Regions from separate parts of the Homo sapiens genome. Here region 1 is linked to region 2. Evidence: promoter capture Hi-C in 16 types of primary human blood cells and fetal thymus (Javierre and others, 2016). All regions are on one chromosome and are shown on one strand. Each heading gives the region's core, a stretch centred on a gene start or on the middle of the fragment in contact. The rest is flanking DNA. Distances are from core to core; before and after follow the strand shown.

What was found. The method cuts DNA at HindIII sites, captures the fragments that hold promoters and counts their contacts. A CHiCAGO score of 5 or more calls a contact.
Region 1: a fragment that was not itself captured here is called in contact with the fragment with the promoter of NEK5 in region 2 in 5 of 17 cell types (megakaryocytes, erythroblasts, M0 macrophages and 2 more); the score reaches 6.6 in megakaryocytes.

Annotation. Positions count from the first base shown.
Region 1 is chr13:51,976,596-51,982,437 of GRCh38, reverse strand. The region is part of intron 1 of ATP7B (ATPase copper transporting beta); the gene reads left to right. Among named protein-coding and RNA genes, the nearest start is that of ATP7B, 32 kb to the left of the region's middle. The HindIII fragment of the contact is 1,517 bases long and covers 3,586-5,102 here.
Region 2 is chr13:52,127,730-52,132,161 of GRCh38, reverse strand. It overlaps NEK5 (NIMA related kinase 5), which reads left to right and starts at 3,089. Exons shown (of 24, transcript NM_001365552.1): 1 at 3,089-3,133. It overlaps LOC101929657 (a long non-coding RNA gene), which reads right to left and starts at 3,267. Exons shown (of 2, transcript NR_110306.1): 1 at 105-3,267. The HindIII fragment of the contact is 11,669 bases long and covers 248-4,432 here.

The DNA of each region.
Region 1 (5,842 bases), core at 3,095-5,594, 150 kb after region 2:
AAGCATACATGTGCCCTGTGTCTACACTTAAAACTATCCAAAACACAAACCTTTATACCTAAAGGAAACTGAGGCCTGGATTTGCTCAGATAATGCTGGAATTCATACTTAAAACTCTCAGACATACCCTCAAGAAATTCAGAAGTAGGAAAGACAGATATTTAAACAAATATATGTGAAAATGCTCTTTGAACTATAAAGCAATTTACAAAAGTGTCATCAATTCATCATTGTTGTTATCTTTATCACAGTCAATAATATTGTTGCCCAAATTAGAATGGTTTAACAAAACATTTTCTTCCTTGCCTTAGAGCAGGGGTGTCCAAACTTTTGACTTTCCTGGGCCACATTAGAAGAAGAATGTGTCTTCGGCCACACATAAAATACGCTAACACTAATAATAGATGATGAGCTAAAAAAAAAAAAAAAAAATTCACACCCAAAAAAATCTCATTATGTTTTAAGAAAGTTTACAAATTTGTGTTGGGCCGTATTCAAAGCCATCCTGGGCTGCATGTGGCTTGCAGGCCATGGGTTGGACAGGCTTGCCTTAGACAAACGGGAAAATCACATTTATTTTCTGCTTGTGAAAGTAACACTTGTTTTTTTAATTTAAGTTTGAAAAATTGGAACTATGTACAGATATTTTTAAAAATCAGTATTTCATAACTCACCAAAAGATAACCTGAATTTTCTCTACTGATATTTACGTTTATCCCCCTGTATACTTAATGTTCATAGAGGTTAATATGGGACATTGATTCTTCCTCAGTGGGGGTTTTAGAGACCAACCCCCACTGGCCTGGATGCCTGGGATGGTTTGGGTGAGATCCTTTCTTGAGTCAGGCATCATTTTTGACCTGTGCCCTCCCCTGTGAATTTGTGGCATCCAGAGAATTCTTAGATAAGGCCGAGCAAGGCAGTACTCATTCCAGATATTCAGGATGTACGTGGTCCAGAGCTGTTGTCTTCTCTGACTTGTGTCTTGTGTGCCTTCTCCTGTAAGTGTGGTTGCCTTGATTAGGGATATTGAGGAAAGTGGAGCGAGTGTGGATATTTTGCTGTAGTTTTCCTGAGGTGACAGATACTAGTGGGTGAAGCCAGGGCTCAGGCAGCTCAGCTCTCTTGTGTGTTAGCCTGGCTTGCTGCTTGCAGGTATGGCTGTTTATTTTCATTTCACTTTTCTGCATTGTAGTCTCTTCCTATAATTAACATGGCTGAAAAGAAAAGGTTACTCTAAAAGTTGTTTTTAAAAAATACAGAGCCTCTCGGATTTCTCAGCAGCGTTTAAATCCCAGCTCTGTTACTTAATGTTGATTTGTGCTCTTGGATAAGCTTCTGAGTCAGTTTCAACAGTGAAATGGTGATAATATCTCCTTCTAGAATTGCCCTAAGCATGAGGGATATAAAATGCCATCCTCATAAAATAACACTCAGAATCATTAATTATTTGTTATTATTGGATCTGCGTGCATATGAAAGAATCCGGACTTTTTTGTATTTTGAATCCCATGAAAGTTCAGATGTGTTAAGTTGTATGGGGGGAGGTGATATATTGGAAAAGTTGCCTTCATGTATAACATGTTTGCCTCATAAGTTGTTATGGGTGTTATACATCCTTCAAAGTGAAAGAATTCTTGAGGATAGGCAGCAGGGGACTGACTGGTATCCTATTTAAGGTTGATGGGAATCCAAGAGTGATCAAGAGACCTCCAAAGTGGCCAGTGGTCCTTCACTTGTACATGAGTTAGTATTTTTTGATTTGTGATCACAGCCACTTTCTAACAAAGCATGTTGTTTCTGCTTTTTCACTATCAGATTGGCTTTGAAAGCCTTCATGAAAACATGCCACCCAGTTTCTGATTTCTTCATATCAGAATGGCTTATCCAGAGATTTTGTTTTCCTTTCTGGCTTCATCTTGGTGAATCAGTAGTTATTTTTTTAACCTATATTTTATTTTAAAAGCCCTGGCACTCTCAGCAAATTTCGTGTGACTTGGGTACCTAGAGAGGTAGCAGAGAATTGAAATTCACTTTTGGACTCCCTTCTGTGGCCTCCTCTGCTTCCAGTCCTTTCTCATCCTGACGTCTACCATCATTTATCAAAAATTCAAAAGCTAGAAAAAGTCATTCTAAAGCCTGGTGTTGGGTCTGCAGAAAATGTCCCAAATGTCTGTCCGTAAGGAGTGCAGAATCTAGTGGGAATTAGATAAACTAGGGCTTTCACAAGGCTTTCTGGGATATCCATGTGGAACCTTGGCCTGCTCTCCATTTCTGTGACTCTTTGATGGGCCCTTAAATCTAAACCTGTGTTTGTTTTTTAAAACTCATCAGGAGAGTTTTTTCCCCCAAGGATCATCTTAATTGAAGAACTGAATTAAAAGCATGCATATGCCCTGTGTCTACACTTAAAACTATCCAAACACTACCAGTTGTTTAATGAGGTTGTTCCTAGACCAACAGATACTTTAGTGTTTTGTAGAGATATGTTATTTGCAAGGCTTTGTCTTCTGTAACTGCTTGGCCTTAAAAACCTGCCTGTCTAGAAAGGGGGGCCTCTGAGTAGTGTTTGATAATAAGAAATTGCTTTCAGTACTACTGCAAACCCTTTTGGCAGAAACATAGAATCAACATTCTAGAAATTAAGGGCTGCTGTTATGGTTTGGGGTTTGTAAAGTTGTAGTTGGAGCGAGGACCAAAAAATGTAAACTGGGTTATCATGAGGGATTTGTTTTTCCAACAAACTAGATGGTTGAGGGTTATGTCTTTCTTATTATGAGGAAGAGGTTTTTGCCTAATAAGGTACTATATGAAAATGAATGTCTTTGAATATCTTCTTAGTTTTTCTTTTATCCTTGGTTCTTTTTTAATTAAAGAAGTATTTAATTAACACCAACTACAATCAAGTCACTGTTCTGAGTCTTCTTTGTGCTCATGTTATTTTAATTTTAAATTAATTTTTAGATTTTGGTAATGTGTGTATTGTACAGTTAAATTATATAGTGAAAGTAATTCTCTGTATCCCAGCCACCTGGTCCCCTTCAGCTGCCTAATCTTCCTCAAATTCTGTACTAGCTTTTGCACTGTCCCAGAGATAATCCATGCCTATACAAGCATCCATTTGTATGATATTCTCTTGTTTCACACAGGTAGTCCTAGCACCATGACAGAATTGTAGCCCTCTCAGTGAACTACACACCCTTGTATTCAAGCTCCGTGTAATTCCTGCCCATATTGACTGTGCTTGGCCGTGTGACTGGTTTTGGCCAATGGGTGTTAGCAAGTGTGATGCAAGCAGAGGTTTGATAAGAGCTTGCACTTTGAAATGTGTTCTAGAGGAGTGCTTGCTATTGTGACACTCCCTCTCAGTACCCAGAAGCCCCCAGCTGTGAGGTCCCCACCTAGTCATAAAGAGAAGCCACATGGAAGAGAACCGGGTCCCTGCCAACAGCCTCATCTGAGCCCCTAGCCGGCAGCAAGCATCCACTTGGCAGCCATGTGATGAATGAACTATCTTCTTGGAAGTGGAACTGCCAGCCCCATTCAGGCCACCCCCAGTGGTGCTATGTGGAGAAGAGACAAGCTTTCCCTGCCAAGCCCTGTCCGAATTGAAAAATTGTGAGCTGTTGCTAGTAATGTACTAAAGTTGGTTTGTCATGTAGCAACAGATAACAAACACATGCTATATATATGATATTTTCTGTGCCTTGCTTTTGTTGCTGAGCAGTATATTAGATATCAGCTTATTTCATTACATACAGAGTCACATCATTCATTTTAAGAGCTGAATAATATTCCATTTATGGCTGTACAGTAATTAACTAGCCTCTTATTGATGGACATTGATGTTTCTAATCTTTCTCAGCATTTAATATCTCCATGGCATGCTTTGTTTTGCACATGAACAAATATATTTATTGGGTAAATTCTTAGAAGTAGAGTTGCTGAGTAAAAGAGTACGTAAATTTGTAATTTTAATAGGTATTGCAAATTGCCCTCCAGAGAGGTTACACTCCCACTAGCAATGTAGGAAGACTGTGCCAGTGTGGTTGGAATGTTACATTTCTTTTTAATATTTTCCCATGTATTTTAAAAACCATATGCATTTCTTTTTTGATGAACTGTCTTCTTTTTTGTTTGGATTGTTGGCCTTTTTCTTTTTTGGAGGAACTCTCTGTATTTAAAGAAATTAACTCTTAATGTATGCTATGTGAAGCAAATCTTTTTTCCCCCAGTTTTTTATCTTTTGACTTCATTTGAATAATTTTTTGTCCTTATTGTGTTTAGTTATGTCAAATCTTTTATAGCTTTTGGATTTTCTTGGTTTTGTTCTGGTTTGTTGGTCATATTTAGGCTTTTCTCACTTTAAGATTATTGTAGATATTCTCCTGTGTTTTCTTCTAGTGTTTTTGTTATTTCTTTTTTACATGTTAATCTTTGATCTGCCTGAAATGTCTTTTGACGTAGACGTTTCCAGGTAGGTGTCCGAGGTGGCTAGTCATTTGTCTGTTAATATTGTTATACCATGTCATCCTTACTATACAGTCATGATGCTTTAGTCAATGATGGACTGCACATATGACACTGGTCCCATGATATTACAATGAAACTGAAAAATTCCTATTGCCTAGTGATCTCGCAGCTGTTGTAATGTCATAGTAATGCATTACTCATGTATTTTTGGTGAGCTGGTGTAAACCAACTTACTGTACTGCCAGTCATATAAAAATAGAGCACATACAATTCTGTACAGTACATAATACTCGATAATAAATGACTATGTTACTGGTTTATGTATTTACTATACTCTATTGTTATTTTAGAGTGTACTCCTTCTACTTATAAAAAGAAAAAGTTAACTGTAAAGTAGCCTCAGGCAGGTCCTAGGAGGTATCCAGAAGAAGGCATTGTTATTATAGGAGATGACAGCTCCATGCCTGTTATCGCACCTGAAGACCTTCCAGTGGGAGAAGATGTAGAGATGGAAGACAGTTATACTGATGATCCTGACCATGTGTAGGCCGAGGCTAATGTATGTGTTTGTGTCTTAGTTTTTAACAAAAATGCTTAAACAGTTTAAAAATAAAAAAATTTTAAAAGCTTATAGGATAAGTATATAAAGAAAATATTTGATAAAGCTGTCCAGTGTGTTTGTGCTTTAAGCTAAGTGTTATTACAAAAGAGTCGAAAGTAAAAAAAAAAAAAATTAAACGTTTATGAAGTAAAAAAGTTACAGCAAGCTGAGGTTAATTAATAAATTATTATTATTGTTTCAGAGACAGGGTCTTGTTTTGTCTCCCAGGCTAGAGTACAGTGGTGCAATCATAGCTCACTGTAACCTTGAACTCCTGGGCTCAAGCAGTCCTCCTGCCTCGGCCTCCCAAAGCATTGAGATTACAATGAGCCACTGTCTGGCTATGTTGATTTATTGTTGAAGAAATAAAACTATTTTTTATAAATTTAGTGTAGCCTAAGTTTACAGTGTTTATAAAATCGACAGTAGTGCAGTGTCCTAAGTCTTCACATCTACTCAACACTCATTCACCGACTCACCCAGAGCAACTTCCAGTCCTGCAAGCTCCATTCATGATAAGTGCCCCATACAGGTGCACCATTTTTTAATCTTTTATATTGTGTTTTTACTGTACCTTTTCTATGTTCAGATATGTTTAGATACACAAGTACTTACCATTGTGTTACAATTGCCTACAGTATTCAGTACAGTAACATGCTGTACAGGTGTGTGGCCTAGGAGCAACAGGCTACACCATACAGCTCAGGTGTTTGGTAGGCTACATCAGCTAGGTGTGTGTAAGTGACTCTATGATGGTCACACAACGAT
Region 2 (4,432 bases), core at 1,840-4,339:
CTGGAATATATACATCTTTTAAAGATTTAACAGTTTTTAAATCTTAACATGTAAAACCTGTGGTATAGAACCAACCCTCCACCTCACACATACGCTGTATTTACATTTAGATATCTTTCATCTCCAGTGGTCTCTGGCAGTCTCTAAATCTTTCCTTGTTTTTCGGGACCTTGACATTTTTGAGTACTGCTTAGGTATTTTGTAGACTGTTGCTCAATTTGGGTTTGTCTCACAATTGGACTAAGCTTATGGATTTTGGGGAAAATCACAAAGGTGAAGTGCCCTTCTCATCACATCATTTCAGGGAGCATCAGCATGACTTCTTCCTGGTGTCGTTCACCTTGATCACTTGATGAAGGCAGTGTCTGCCAGGCTCTTCACTATCAACTTCATAATTTTCCATGTTCATGCTGTGTTCACTATAAGTGAGTCACACACTCCAGCTCATAGTCAAATGCAAAGGAATTAATCTCCACCTCTGGGGGTGGGAGTATAATCCAATAATAAGTCGTTTGTTTTCTTGCTTAAATTGTTCTAGCTTTGGCCGTTGGGAATTGTTTCAGGTCACCTCCTGTGTCCCTTTGAGGTGCGCTGGTTCTTTTGGAGCACTTCCTTTCTGGCACTACAAGATGGTCCAGACTCATCTTTATCTTCTCTGCCCCAGCCCCAAAATCATCCATTTCAACAAGGTTCCCACTGGTTTAGAAACCAAGATCTGGGTGCTGGGTGTGCTTATTGCTCCTGGGGTGTCACTGCTTCTAGGCCCTCTCAGCAGACAGAGCTAGGAAGTATATATGTGTATACTAACCTGTATACACTGTATAATTGTATATCCATCCAGACATCTCTACAGTTATTTCTGTATCTCTCCATCTGTACATACATTAAATTAAGCATGGGTCCATACTGATGTCTCCAACTAACCCAGTACTACAAGGTTCATTCTAGCCTTCTTCTCACGCTTTTCTGTAACTTCTCTCCCTGACAATGAGAAAACTGGCTTGTACCATCCGCCATCTGCTTAGCTGTTCAATCCTAGTCTATTTGTAAAGCAGTTTCCAAATCATTAACCCATACCCCTGGGAGAAACAAATTTACCAACTAAGGTACAGAGTTTATGTATCTTTCCTATTGTCTCATAGTTTCCAGTCAAATACCATTTCCCAAAATTACTTGGGTTAGCTCTTTGAAATTAGCTTACTACTCTCTTGAAGATTTTTCAAGTTAAAGCAGGCATGGATAGTTTTAAGGACATTTCCAGGTACTCAGCTTCCATATATACTGTATTCCATACCTCTTAGTCATCTTCAATCTTGGCATTGCCCAAGGGCATAAACATTTCAAAACCATCAAACAAAAAAAACTTGAAATTATGTACAGTTACTGAGAGACTGGATAAGTATTGGATAATAAATCCTTTTCAAAATCAGAATGGCTTATGGGGTTTTGCTTTTAATAAAATTTCAGAAGACTAATGGAATTATCAGTTCATGATTATAAACCAGTTTTGGTGACAGATTACTATATGATTCTTGAGATACAACTAGACAAAAATTGAGGGACACTTTTAACAAAACTTTTCATTCCTATGTACTTATTTCTCAGCACTTACAGCCTTAAGAAAATGGAAGAGAATCAGTGTTAAACTTCATTGTAGCAAGAAGTTAGCATTCATCTATGGATACAGGAACTAACGGTGCATGGGAAGCCCATCCAGGTCTTAAAGAGATGAATTTTCAATACAATTTTATTTTTTATATTTAATAATTATCAGTATTGTGATACATTTTATTGTGATCAATTGTGTAGTACTAGTAATTTTAACAATTTAATCCAGAAAAACTAAAATTCTATGAGCAGGAAATATAAATTTCCATTTCTGTACTTCTTTCAGCAGTATGATAGGATGATCAATAAGACTTTCAAGTATGAAAAAGATAACGGGTAAAATTCTATCAGGAAAGTAGAATGAAGATATGATTTAATGAAGCATGTCTAAGAATTCTAGGGAAGAAATTTGGGTGTGGTCACTGACACGTGTAATTAAACAAAAACAAGTAGATCATATACCTACTAATATTTTGAGGGAATTTCACTGCCAAAGAAACTAACATTGGATATTCCAACTGCTAAACAACTTTTGGACTCCTGCTACGGGCTGCATTCACCCCCGCCGCGGCCACCCCCAATTCACACACTGAAATCTAACACCAATAACTAATAATGAGACTATATTCGGAGACAGAGACTTTAAAGATGCAATTAGATCAAAATGAGGCCTTTAGTTCAGCCCTAATCCAACTTGACTAGAGTGCTTACAAGAAGAAGAAATTTTTTGTGGCAGGGACGGGGAGGGGGCGGCGGAGAGATGATTTTAAGAAGGAAGAGTAATGATGTAAACTTAGGATTTTTAAGAGTTTTTTGTGGGTTTTTTTTGTGTGTGTGTGTGAGGTGGACGATGGAGGGTACCATATTACTGTAGTGTTTCGATTCAGTTGGATATATTTAACTTGCGTCACTATTTACAATTGCTGAAAATTACATTTTTTTCAACTACTTAAACATTTTAGACAGCAGCTTGATGTGCAAATCCAGAATGGGGCAGGGTGGGATGAGCACTGGGCGTGAGTGCAGACGCTTGGGCAGCGCCGGTTTCGTTAGAAAGTCCCTTGGCAGGCCGCCGCTGTGGCCCAAAGAGTAGGAAGCCGTTCCAGTCTCACGTCCACCTTTTGGCAATATTTGAGACCTTGTACAAGAAACACTCTTCCTGTATCAGTTTAGCTCATTTGTAAAACTGGGAGACTACTGCCTTGACGGGTTGTAAAGAAAAGAGAGAACGTTTGCGAAGCGTCTGGTGCACCTTAAGCAAGAGCGGGGAGCGCTACTGTAGACTGCAAAGCAAAGGAATCCCGACCCAAGGCAACGGGACGGTTGCGGGGTGACTCTGCCGGGTCTCCAAACTCCCTGGCGCCTGACCCTGCCTCGAGGTGGACTGGTCCCCAGGCCATTCCAGACCCGCGCCCCGCCCGCGTTTCCTTGCGCGGCTCCGCCCCGGCCGCAGGGAGGCGCAGCGGCCCCGGGAACCCGGATCCTTCCGGGACGCTTCGTTGGCCCCGCGGAGCCGGCGGAGCAGGTACGCTTGCAGGGGCCGCCCTTAGTTCTTGCCCGGAGCCGCCACAGGGCTTCGGGAGCTCGGCAGGGTGGGGGAAAGGGATGGAGTTTCGGCCTGGGGCGGCGGGGGCGGCCCAGAAAAGGCCTAGCGTCCTGGGCTGTGTGGGTGTAGCGTCCAGGGCGCGTCGGTCTCTATGGCAACGCTCCACACGCGGAGGTCGGGTACGGGTAAGCGTCTTGCCACTCACCCGCGGCCGCTTCCAGGGGCGGCCCTAGGGGAGAAGGAATTTTCCTAATTTGGGGGCTTCCACCCTTTGGTGCCACTTGGGCGGGAGGGTCGCGGGCCCTCAGTTCCCGGCGAGTCACCCCCGGCCCCAAGTCCGTATGCGTCTCTCTCAGAACCCGATCCTCCGGTGTCTGCAGCCTCTCCTGGCTGCGGAGCTGGTTCCCAGCCCCCTGCAACCCAGTACCGACTTCCCACCCTGACGTAAAATTATTCGAAAACAAGCCCCCTGCTCACCCCATTAACAACAACAACAAAACTGTATTATGCCCTAACTGTAGCATAAAGAGGAAATAGAAGGAAAGCAATAAGTAAGAAAGTACATATTTCAATCTGAAAATGCTTGGCACTACTACCCTTGGAAAATGTAGAGAAGTAGCCAGTAGCCGCGCCTGGGGAGTCGCCTGAACGTGACGGCAGCAAATGCAGATTGTTGGGTCTCCGGGACCAGGAGCAGCGTGGCCAGTGAAGCGCGTGGTTTTCCCAAATGGTGAACAATTCTTGGTAAACCTCCAAACCGAAGTGCAATCAAGCCTTGATTTACATGTAGTTGCATTCCTCGAAAAAAAAAAGAAGTGTTCATTAAAACTGCAAAAATACTTAGCATTTCGATGTAAAATAGAGTTTGGTTCTAGCCACAAACGGATTTTTCCACGCACAGGAATGTATAGGAAGACTCTCCAAGATTGTAGGGCCGCGGGGTAATCCTTTATTGTGCGGGACTGTCTCTCGAATCGCAGAATCCTACCATCTCAGGCCCCAACCACCTGTAAACCTCATGCCTCTGAATCTTGGGGAAACAGCTTCCCCACCCCCATATATTTCCAGAATTCCCCCTAGGGGGCAGTACGTCCCCACTAAGAAAGGCTGAACTATAAAAGTGCACAAGCCTAAGGACATTCCTGCTTTATAAAGGTGCGAAACACCGGATATAGTATCTTTCATTCTCAGAACAAACTTGCAAAACAGGTATTGTTATTCCATTTTAGAAATTAGGAAAGTGAGGTTTTGCCAGGTTAAGTGACTTACCCGAGAATA